2 separate regions of the Homo sapiens genome follow, and region 2 is linked to region 1. The links are contacts of gene promoters, found by promoter capture Hi-C in blood cells and fetal thymus (Javierre and others, 2016). All regions are on one chromosome and are shown on one strand. Each heading gives the region's core, a stretch centred on a gene start or on the middle of the fragment in contact. The rest is flanking DNA. Distances are from core to core; before and after follow the strand shown.

Region 1 (4,260 bases), core at 722-3,221:
CCTGCAATCCCAGCTACTCGGGAGACTGAGACTGAGGAATTGCTTGAACCTGGGAGGCAGGGGTTGCAGTGAGCTGAGATTGTGCCATCGCACTCCAGCCTGGGTGACAGGACGAGACTCTGTCTCAAAAAAAAAAAAAAAAAAAGAACAAGGTCAAAGTTTCTACTGGGATAAGACTTCAAGGAAACCTCCATTTCAAAAGATTAAAATGTTTATTTCCCCATGAAGACTGGGTATCTCATGTAATGTAATACTCAAATTTCTGTCTCAGACCTAAAGGTGTTGAAAGTATGAGCGAGTTTACACAACACCTGAGCAGGAGCAAATAAAACTCTTAAGAGCTTCTGAAAGAAAGTTACAGATTAGAGATATTTTCATCTCTAAATCACATGAATTAGGATTGGCTGGGTCTTTCCACTTAAAACTTGGAGAAGTCATAAAAAGAAATCTTGTAAAGAACTCCATGTCACTATTAGCAGAAACATGCAATTTATAAAATGATATCTTTGGCCAGGCGCGGTGGCTCATGCCTGTAATCCCAGCACTCTGGGAGGCCGAGGCGGGCGGATCACTTGAGGTCAGGAGATCGAGACCATCCTGGCTAACACAGTGAAACCCTGTCTCTACTAAAAATACAAAAAAAATTAGCCGGGCGTGGTAGTGGGTGCCTGTAGTCCCAGCTACTTGGGAGGCTGAGGCAGGAGAATGGCGTGAACCCAGGAGGCGGAGCTTGCAGTGAGCACTCCATCTCAAATAATAATGATAATAATAATATCTTCACCTTTCAGTTTTTAAATTGCAAGTCCCATGTCCCGGGAATTCCCCGGTCCTGGGCAAAGTGGGATGGTTGGTCACCCAACCTATATGGATGCCCATTGATATTAAAAAATAAAAGTAATCACAATAGACATGAGGGAGAGAGTTGTGTACAGTGTGAGTGTACAGAATAAAAGGTCTGGGGGGTTTATACCAAAATGTGCACAGTGGCTACCTGGAGGAGGAGGGTTAGACAGGAATAACAGCAAGGAGACTTTTGCACGGTGCTGAGTGACTTTTTAACTTGCATATTATTTTGGAATGCATTTTTTCAACATTGAAAGAAAGTCATGTCTTCCTAGAAATATAGGATATAGGACCACTACAAACGCTTTACTCTTAGTCTCCTTTTTTTCTTTTTCTTTTCTTTTTTTTTTTTTTTGAGACAGAGTCTTGCTCTGTCAGTCAGGCTGGAATGCAGTGGCGCAATTTTAGCTCACTGCAACCCCCACCTCCTGGGTTCAAGCGATTCTCCTGCCTCAGCCTCCCAAGTAGCTGGGATTACAGGTGCCCATCACCACATCTGGCTAATTTTTATGTGTTTAGTACAGATGGGGTTTCGCCATGTTGGCCAGGCTGGTCTCGAACTCCTGACCTCAAGTGATCCACCTGCCTCTGCCTCCCAAGGTGCTGGGTGGCATGAGCCACCGTGCCCAGCCTTAGTCTGCTTTAAAAAAAAAAAAAAAAAAAAAAAGAACAACCATTTGAGGAAACAGAAACAGAATACTATTCCTTAAGACAGTAGCTTTGGAGGCAAAAAACAGAATTGTTTATAAAACGTTGTGGAACTTATATGGGAGCATGTCCAGGGATCCACACCACCATTTATAGAAGCAAAGAAAGGCCCTTCTCTTTCATCTGCGTTACATTTCGAGCTCTTCTGATTAGCTTCCTTCAAACATGACGGGAGTCGTTTTTCCCCGGGGACCCCAAGTGCATGCCTTCAGACAGGGTCTGCTCTCACTATACATTGGGTTCGAATTTACCTGGACGTTGGCAGAATGGTCCGGACCCCGGGGAGGGGCGAGCTGACTTACCACTTTATTCCTGCCGCTTTTCTCTTGCCATGTCCTCCCCACCGTGCATTCAGGGTTACATTTTCCAGGTTCCTTGTTTGCTGAGGGCCTGAATCTAAGCCTGCTAGCTGCTTACTCTGGGGACTGCAAATGTCACTTTTAGATTAATCAGCCCCTGCTGTTTAAAAATATCCCTGGAGCACTTAACCTTCAAAGCAGCAACAACCCGGGGCAAAGATGAGAAAGATCCCACGTCAAACCACTTGTGCAGCCCTGGCTACTCCTGGGAGAGTTCTGCTATCTGCCTTTTAATCCCATAACTCGCTTTATTTCATAATTCTTAGCTGTTGAAGCCATGAGGCATCTAAAGTCCATGTTGTCGTAAGCAGTAGGCAGAAAGTCATCTGGGCCCTCCTGTGACATGCTGAAAATTAACTGCCTACAGGTGTTGGTCATTTGAGAAACAAGCCCCCATTGAAAACCGTGAATGGGAAGGTGATCGCTATCAGGTCACCTGGCTTCTCTCCCCTGAAAAGATTTGGCGAAACCCTCTCAAATCACGCCACTTAATGGAATGTTTCCAATTTCTTGTGACTTGGGGATAAAAGAAAAAAACAGCTCCATTGCCACATTCTCATTCAGGGTTGACTGGCTCTTGCTAGGGTTGAGCACAGAAGAGGAAATTCAGCACACGCTGCAGTTACATAGTGTTCTGCAACGTGGGGAGGGCTGGCATGTGGGACAAAGGTCGCCTCCAAGGCCCAGCTGGAGAAGCCCAGCCAACTAGGCAGCAGGAAAGTGGAGACCACATAGGAGCACATTGTGCTCAGGCAACAGGGAAGGTGGAACCCACTTCCTGCCAACAATGATGGCCTTACTAAACAGCAAGTGGAGAAACTGGCGAGAGCGCTGAGCACGGGATCTGTGCAAAATGGTTTAAATGGAAATTGCTGCTGGGGCTGGTGCAGCCTGTTCACAGCTACTTTGTTTCTGGGCTTATTTTGCAATAAGGAACAGTCATTGAATATTGGACTTCTTGGGATTTTCTCCACTGGACTTGGAAGCATGTGCTCTGGAAACCTCAGCATTATCAGCTGTAACCCCACAGCACCAGGTACATGTTACAGGAACCGGGGTGAAGGAATGCAGGTCAAATGCCTGCACAATGCCCGGCCCGAGTCATATGTTCTCTAGCCACAGTAGCCCTTGTGATGGCTCTTAGTCTATTTATTAAGACAATAAAAGAGGTGACTCTCAAACAAACCTATGTTTCCAGGGAGAGCCATCTGTGATTCAAGGACATTTTTATAAAATTCCATTGAAAAAAATTCTTAGGCTTCTAACTTCATGAAAAAAAAATTCTTTCCCAGTGATTCCAAATAATCATGATCTAGGCAGGGTGTTGACAGTGGCAGGACTATTAGGCTTTGAAATCAAGCTGATGTGGGTTTGAATCCTCCCTCCATTAGCCATGACTTTGAGCAAATGGCTGAGCTTCAGTGTCCTCATCAACTACTTCACCATATGGGTGAGAAAATGAAATGATTTATATTGAGTTTCTGGCACAGGGGCTTGCTCATGACAAGCACTTAATATCTTTCTAATGAAATTCATTACTTGCAAAAAGACTAGACATACCCACACATACAGGTGAAGAACTCTGCAGTGATTCAGTTCTCCCTAGACACTATCTCTTTAAGACACAGGTATTTTCCAGAATATAATTGGAAGGCTTGAAACCAAAGTTATTCATAAACTCTTTCCATCAAACACAAGAACGGTAATAGAAATATATTTCTTCAAACAGCTGTTAGTTTCAGAAAGTCACAGGTATCAAGTTACATTTTTTGTTTTGTTTTGTTTTGTTTTAGAAATAGGATCTTGCTCTGTTGCCCAGGCTGGATGGAGTGCAGTGGCATGATCATAGCTCACTGCAGCCTCGAACTCCTGGGCTCAAATGATCCTCCTGCCTCAGCTTCCCAAGTAGCTAGAACTACAGGCACACACCACCCCTGGCTAATTAAAAAAAAAAAAATTTTTTTTTTTTAAAGACAAGGTCTCATTATGTTGCCCAAGTTGGTCTTGAACTCCTGGCCTAAAGCGATCTTCTTGCCTTGCCTCCTAAAGCACTGGGATTACAGGTATGAGCCACTGTACCTGGCCCAAAAAAAATTATTAAGTGACCACATGGTCTAACAAAACAAGGCACCTGGAAAGAAATCACCAGTCCTGCTGCAAACCGGACCCTCTGTGAGAATTCACATGCCTTCCCCCACCAATTAAATCAGAATTTCCAGGGATGGGGTCTGGCTTTGCATGTTTTAGCTTCTCTAGGCTGGAGGAGCACTAGCTTCTTGTTGGAAGGCTCCCTACCTTCCTCTCCCACACCCTCACCCCAAACATCATTAAGAGAGACAAAAGAACATGC
Region 2 (4,260 bases), core at 746-3,245, 190 kb before region 1:
GGGAGGGGCTGTCTTTTAGTGAAGGATTCTTGCTTTTCTTTTCCATATTTCATGAGTCTACAGAACTCACAGACTGGATGCCTTTTATTTTAAAAACTTTACTGAATCCATCAGCTTTCAGAAGAGACAATTTCTTTCCAAACCATTCTGAAGATATAAAATTACACCTTAATGAAAATGACTGTGACCTCACAAGGAGGTTGTCAAGTCACCCACGTTTCCTTACAACTCCAAGAAGGATTAACAGAAATAAACCCAAATGCTTTGAATGCTTACAACTTTACTGGTGAATTAATTATATGTCATTCAGGGACATTCAAAGCAACATAAACTATGTAAACCACTTTCCTAACCGGTCAAAACACACATTTTAAATACATGCTGGTCGCGGGAGATGAAAACTGAGAAAGTTTCATGACTGTGACCTCAACTAACATCTGTAAACTACATCTTTTTCCTCCCTAGAGAATGAAAGCTGATCTATTTACTCCTGGCAGAGAAGAAAGGAGGAAGGACGTCCAGGTGCTACCAGAAAACCATTTGTGAGGACATGGACCAGTGCCAAGGTCACAGCCCACCTGAATAGAACTTGAAATCCAGGCACACCCAGTCCAGGGGAGCCCTGAGTTCTTCCTGAACTTAAACACTGGGTTTAAAAAAAAAAAAACAGTCACAGGTGCGGGGACACTGGTCCCCTGCCTGCTGCGAAGTAGATAACGCGAGGACAGCCTCAAAACAACTCCAGACGCTTCGGGTGCCTGAGCCTCACTCGGTGGGGGCGGCGCAGAGGTCCACGTGCAGTACGCGAGCTGGGGAGGTGCGGGAGCCCGCGCTCTGCCCGTGCGCCGCCGACCCACTCACTGCCGCTCGGGGCTTTGGGTTCCCCCCATGCAAAAGGAGGACCATGCTATGTCATCAAGGGCTGATGCGAAGAAGAACCCAGAAGCAGGCGTCAATAAGTAACGAAAGAATGGGGGTAGCCGTGCCTAATATCGTTGCTGCCGTGGCAATTACTGCAACGGAGGCTTGAGAGTTAGGGCGCCAGAAACGCAAACTTTCCAGGGGACCAAACTCATCCAAGCCTCCTAAGGGGCCTGTGGAGACCTCTGCCCGCTCTGGGCCCCGCCGCCGTCCGCGGTCCGCGCCACCTTTCCCGCGGCTGGCTCCAGGCGGGGCGGGGCAGCGGCGGCGCGGGCCGGGCGGCGGGGAAGGGAGGGAGCGCGGTTGCACACGCGGGCCACTGCCCCCAACGGCTGCGCTGGGCTCGCGGCGCCGTACCCCGAACGCCGCAGCCTCCGCCTCCGCCGCCGCCGCCACCGCCACCGCCACCGCCGTCGCCGTCGTCGCGGCTGCCGGGGCCGCCGAGCCCCGCCGCACTCGCTCCGGGCGGGCTCACCCTCCTCGCGGGACAGGGGGGCGCAGCGCGCAGTCCCGGGGAGCCCTCCTCGCCTCGCCGCCGCGCTGGGCCCGGGCCCCCCCTCGCGGCCCCAGCAGGTGGAGGCGCCCCGCGCCCCGCTCCGCAGCCCCCTCCCGCTGCGCGCCAGCCCGCGCGGGCGCAACTTTCTTAAAGGGACAGGTGGACCGAATCCGCGTCCACCTGGGGCCCCGTCTCTGCCTCCCGGCCCGTCCTCCACTTTGGGGGAGAGAGGGGGTTGCAACAGATCTCTCCGCCCGCCCACGTCCTTTGCCCCAGGCGGGATTGCAAGTTTTAATGCACCCAGCCTCCTTTTGCAACTTAATTCCCTTGGCCGAAATCACCCTCCCACTGCTCCTCAACGCATGCTCTCGGGCATGCAGTTGTTGTCACTGTTGGCAAAGTTTGAAGAGGGGTCCCTACCCCTGCACTCCTCCGCCCCGCCCCCCTCACACACACCCCCCCCCCAGAACCCCGGGGCGTGCAAGGCTCGCGGCTGCTGGGAAACGCCCGCTGCAATCCCCTTGACCCTGCCCTGTAACTGACCCTTGGGGAAAAGCCCCCCGCACGGCTACTGCGCATGCTCTGAGCTGGACAGCTCCAGAGAGGGAAATTTAAAAACGGTTCGAGCTGCGACGGCGGCCAAATTGCGGAACGCGAGGGGCGAGCGCGAGGGAGCCCCCCTCCGGAACCCCTGCCCACCCCCGGAGCGCCGGCAGCGGCGGCCCCGCGAGGATCGGCTCCAGGTACCGCCTTGCAGGGTCGGCTTTGCTCCCTCCTCCCGGGCAATGCCGGGCATTGCATTTCCAGGGTAGAGACCCGGGCGCAGGGGCTGCGGGGCCGCCTCCCTCTGCTCCCTTTTCCTCCTTCCTGGGAATCCTTCGATGGCTTTGGGGGCGGAACTGAGGCTTTGGTGGGCTTTTATGTTGGTTCAGGCTTGGAGTTTGAGAAACTTAGGGAACTCAAATATTTTTATTATTTTTTTAAGGCAGTGTTTGTGTGTTGCGGGGACGTGGGTGGTTGGATTGGTTTTCCAGTAAGGGCTTGTGGCATTTCTGAAGGCATTTCAGGGCAGGAGCTTGCGGGGATTATTCCCTTTGCAAGTGGGAATTTGTTCCCCCAGAGAAATACACATGTCACATCCAGCTGCCCCTTATTTTGAAAGTGATCATAACCAAACTGAGGTTGAAAATATAAGGCTTGGAAGGAAATCGTTTTTCTGATTCCTATTTTGTGAGTCCACATTTTCCAGGTTTGACATTTGGATTCTAGAGCTTCCCTTGCTCTTCCCCCATTAATTCGAAAGAACCGGGAATTTCATTTCATTCTCTTCATTTGTTTCTAAAACGCTGTAGAATTGCCCTGGGAAAGTGACCTGAGATGCCCAGGAATCCTCTAGAACTTTTTTCTTTAAAGAAAAAAAAAGTGTTCTGTGAGTTGATTGTGCTCCATCTTTCTGAATTGCGGGAAAACTGTGGGTTTCTGCCCTGTCCATATCGTCGCTGATGGGAGCTTTGTTTTCTGCTTGTCTTTTCCCAAGGAGATGATAGAAAGTGACACCTCATCCATAATGTCAGGAATTATTCGAAACTCAGGGCAAAATCACCACCCCTCTCCACAGGAATACAGGTGAGGGCTCCAACAATAACAAACTATATATTTTTTAATTGCTCAAAGTGTTTGTATGCTGTTTATGGTTTCTGAAACTGCCCAAGAACTATTGTTATGTTCAATTCTGTGATTTTTGCGGGAGAGCTGGAAAGTCTTGATTTCAATGTTGGTCTTGCTAAGGGTGTCTGGGCCACAACCTGGCCCAGTGGGACCACGAAATGCCTGCTGTCTCTTGTCCCCTCCAAAAGAGGTCCGTTTCTGCATTTGATACTGTTTGGGCATCCTGGTGAATGTTAAGATGACAATAGCAGCTACTGCTTCCCCTCCAGTGGCCTTAATGGGGGCTGTGGGAAATGCTCCCCCACCCCCTGCCAAAAAAAAACCTTCTGGGAGGAATTGGGTTCTATCCTCCACAGATGTTAAGAAAGTAGTCAGATATGCTAAGTTCTCAGCCAGGCTGTGTGACATTCAGCAAGTCCTTTGCCCTGGGCCTCACTTCCTCATCATTTAATTGATCTTGTTGAAGTAGATGATCTTAAGGTTTCTTCTAGGCCTCATGTGTTTGAAGAGTAAATTAGATGGAAACTGAGGCCTTGAAACAGGGTGAAGCAAGGTACAACTGAGAGGATGCATGGAAGCCTTCAGAGCCCTTCTGTCTTTTTTTGTCTTCAAACATCATAGCCAAAAAGGCCTTTAGGAGGTCAACCAGTCTGCGCACCCCCTATTTTTTTTACAGTTGGGGAAACTGAGGCCAAGAAAGGGGAAAGGGCTTGTCCAAGGTCTCCAGGAGGGAAAAGGAGGAAAAGGAAGGACCTGGAGTCCCCTCCCGGCCTCTTTCCCCTTGAGGCCAGGGAGCCCTGACCTCGTTTCCAGGGCTCCCCCGACAGAGCAAGCAACATGTCTGTAGGCTGAGGGGGCACAGTCCAGATTACGGAATGGGGACAGGACCAGGGCTGGCCTGGGAAGAGCAGGCTGTCACCTCCTATCAGCCCTGTTTACCCAGGGTTTGTCTGGCCCCCCCGGGGTCACTGCAACTCACCAGGAGTGCCTGCTGGGACAGACCGCAGCCCGCAATTAGAGGGAGGCTGCTTCCTGAGGGCTGTGGGCCTGGAAGCTGCCTTCTGAGATCCAAACGAGGACACAGATTCAAACAGATATTTGCAGAGAGCCTGCTGTGTGCAGAGCTGGGGCCAGGTACGTGGCAGTTTGCAAGCACCTACTGTGTGCCATCCCCC

The links. Contacts are between HindIII fragments. The CHiCAGO score rates a contact against its expected background, and 5 or more counts as called.
Region 2: the fragment with the promoter of FOXN4 here is called in contact with the fragment with the promoter of ACACB in region 1 in 13 of 17 cell types (endothelial precursors, megakaryocytes, M1 macrophages and 10 more); the score reaches 11.0 in endothelial precursors.

The regions. Positions count from the first base shown.
Region 1 is chr12:109,114,298-109,118,557 of GRCh38, reverse strand. ACACB (acetyl-CoA carboxylase beta) reads right to left here and starts at 1,971. Exons shown (of 53, transcript NM_001093.4): 1 at 1,854-1,971. The HindIII fragment of the contact is 11,769 bases long and covers 1-4,260 here.
Region 2 is chr12:109,307,019-109,311,278 of GRCh38, reverse strand. It overlaps FOXN4 (forkhead box N4), which reads left to right and starts at 1,995. Exons shown (of 10, transcript NM_213596.3): 1 at 1,995-2,160; 2 at 2,955-3,043. The coding sequence starts at 2,958. It also overlaps a transcript of MYO1H not described here. The HindIII fragment of the contact is 5,817 bases long and covers 1-4,260 here.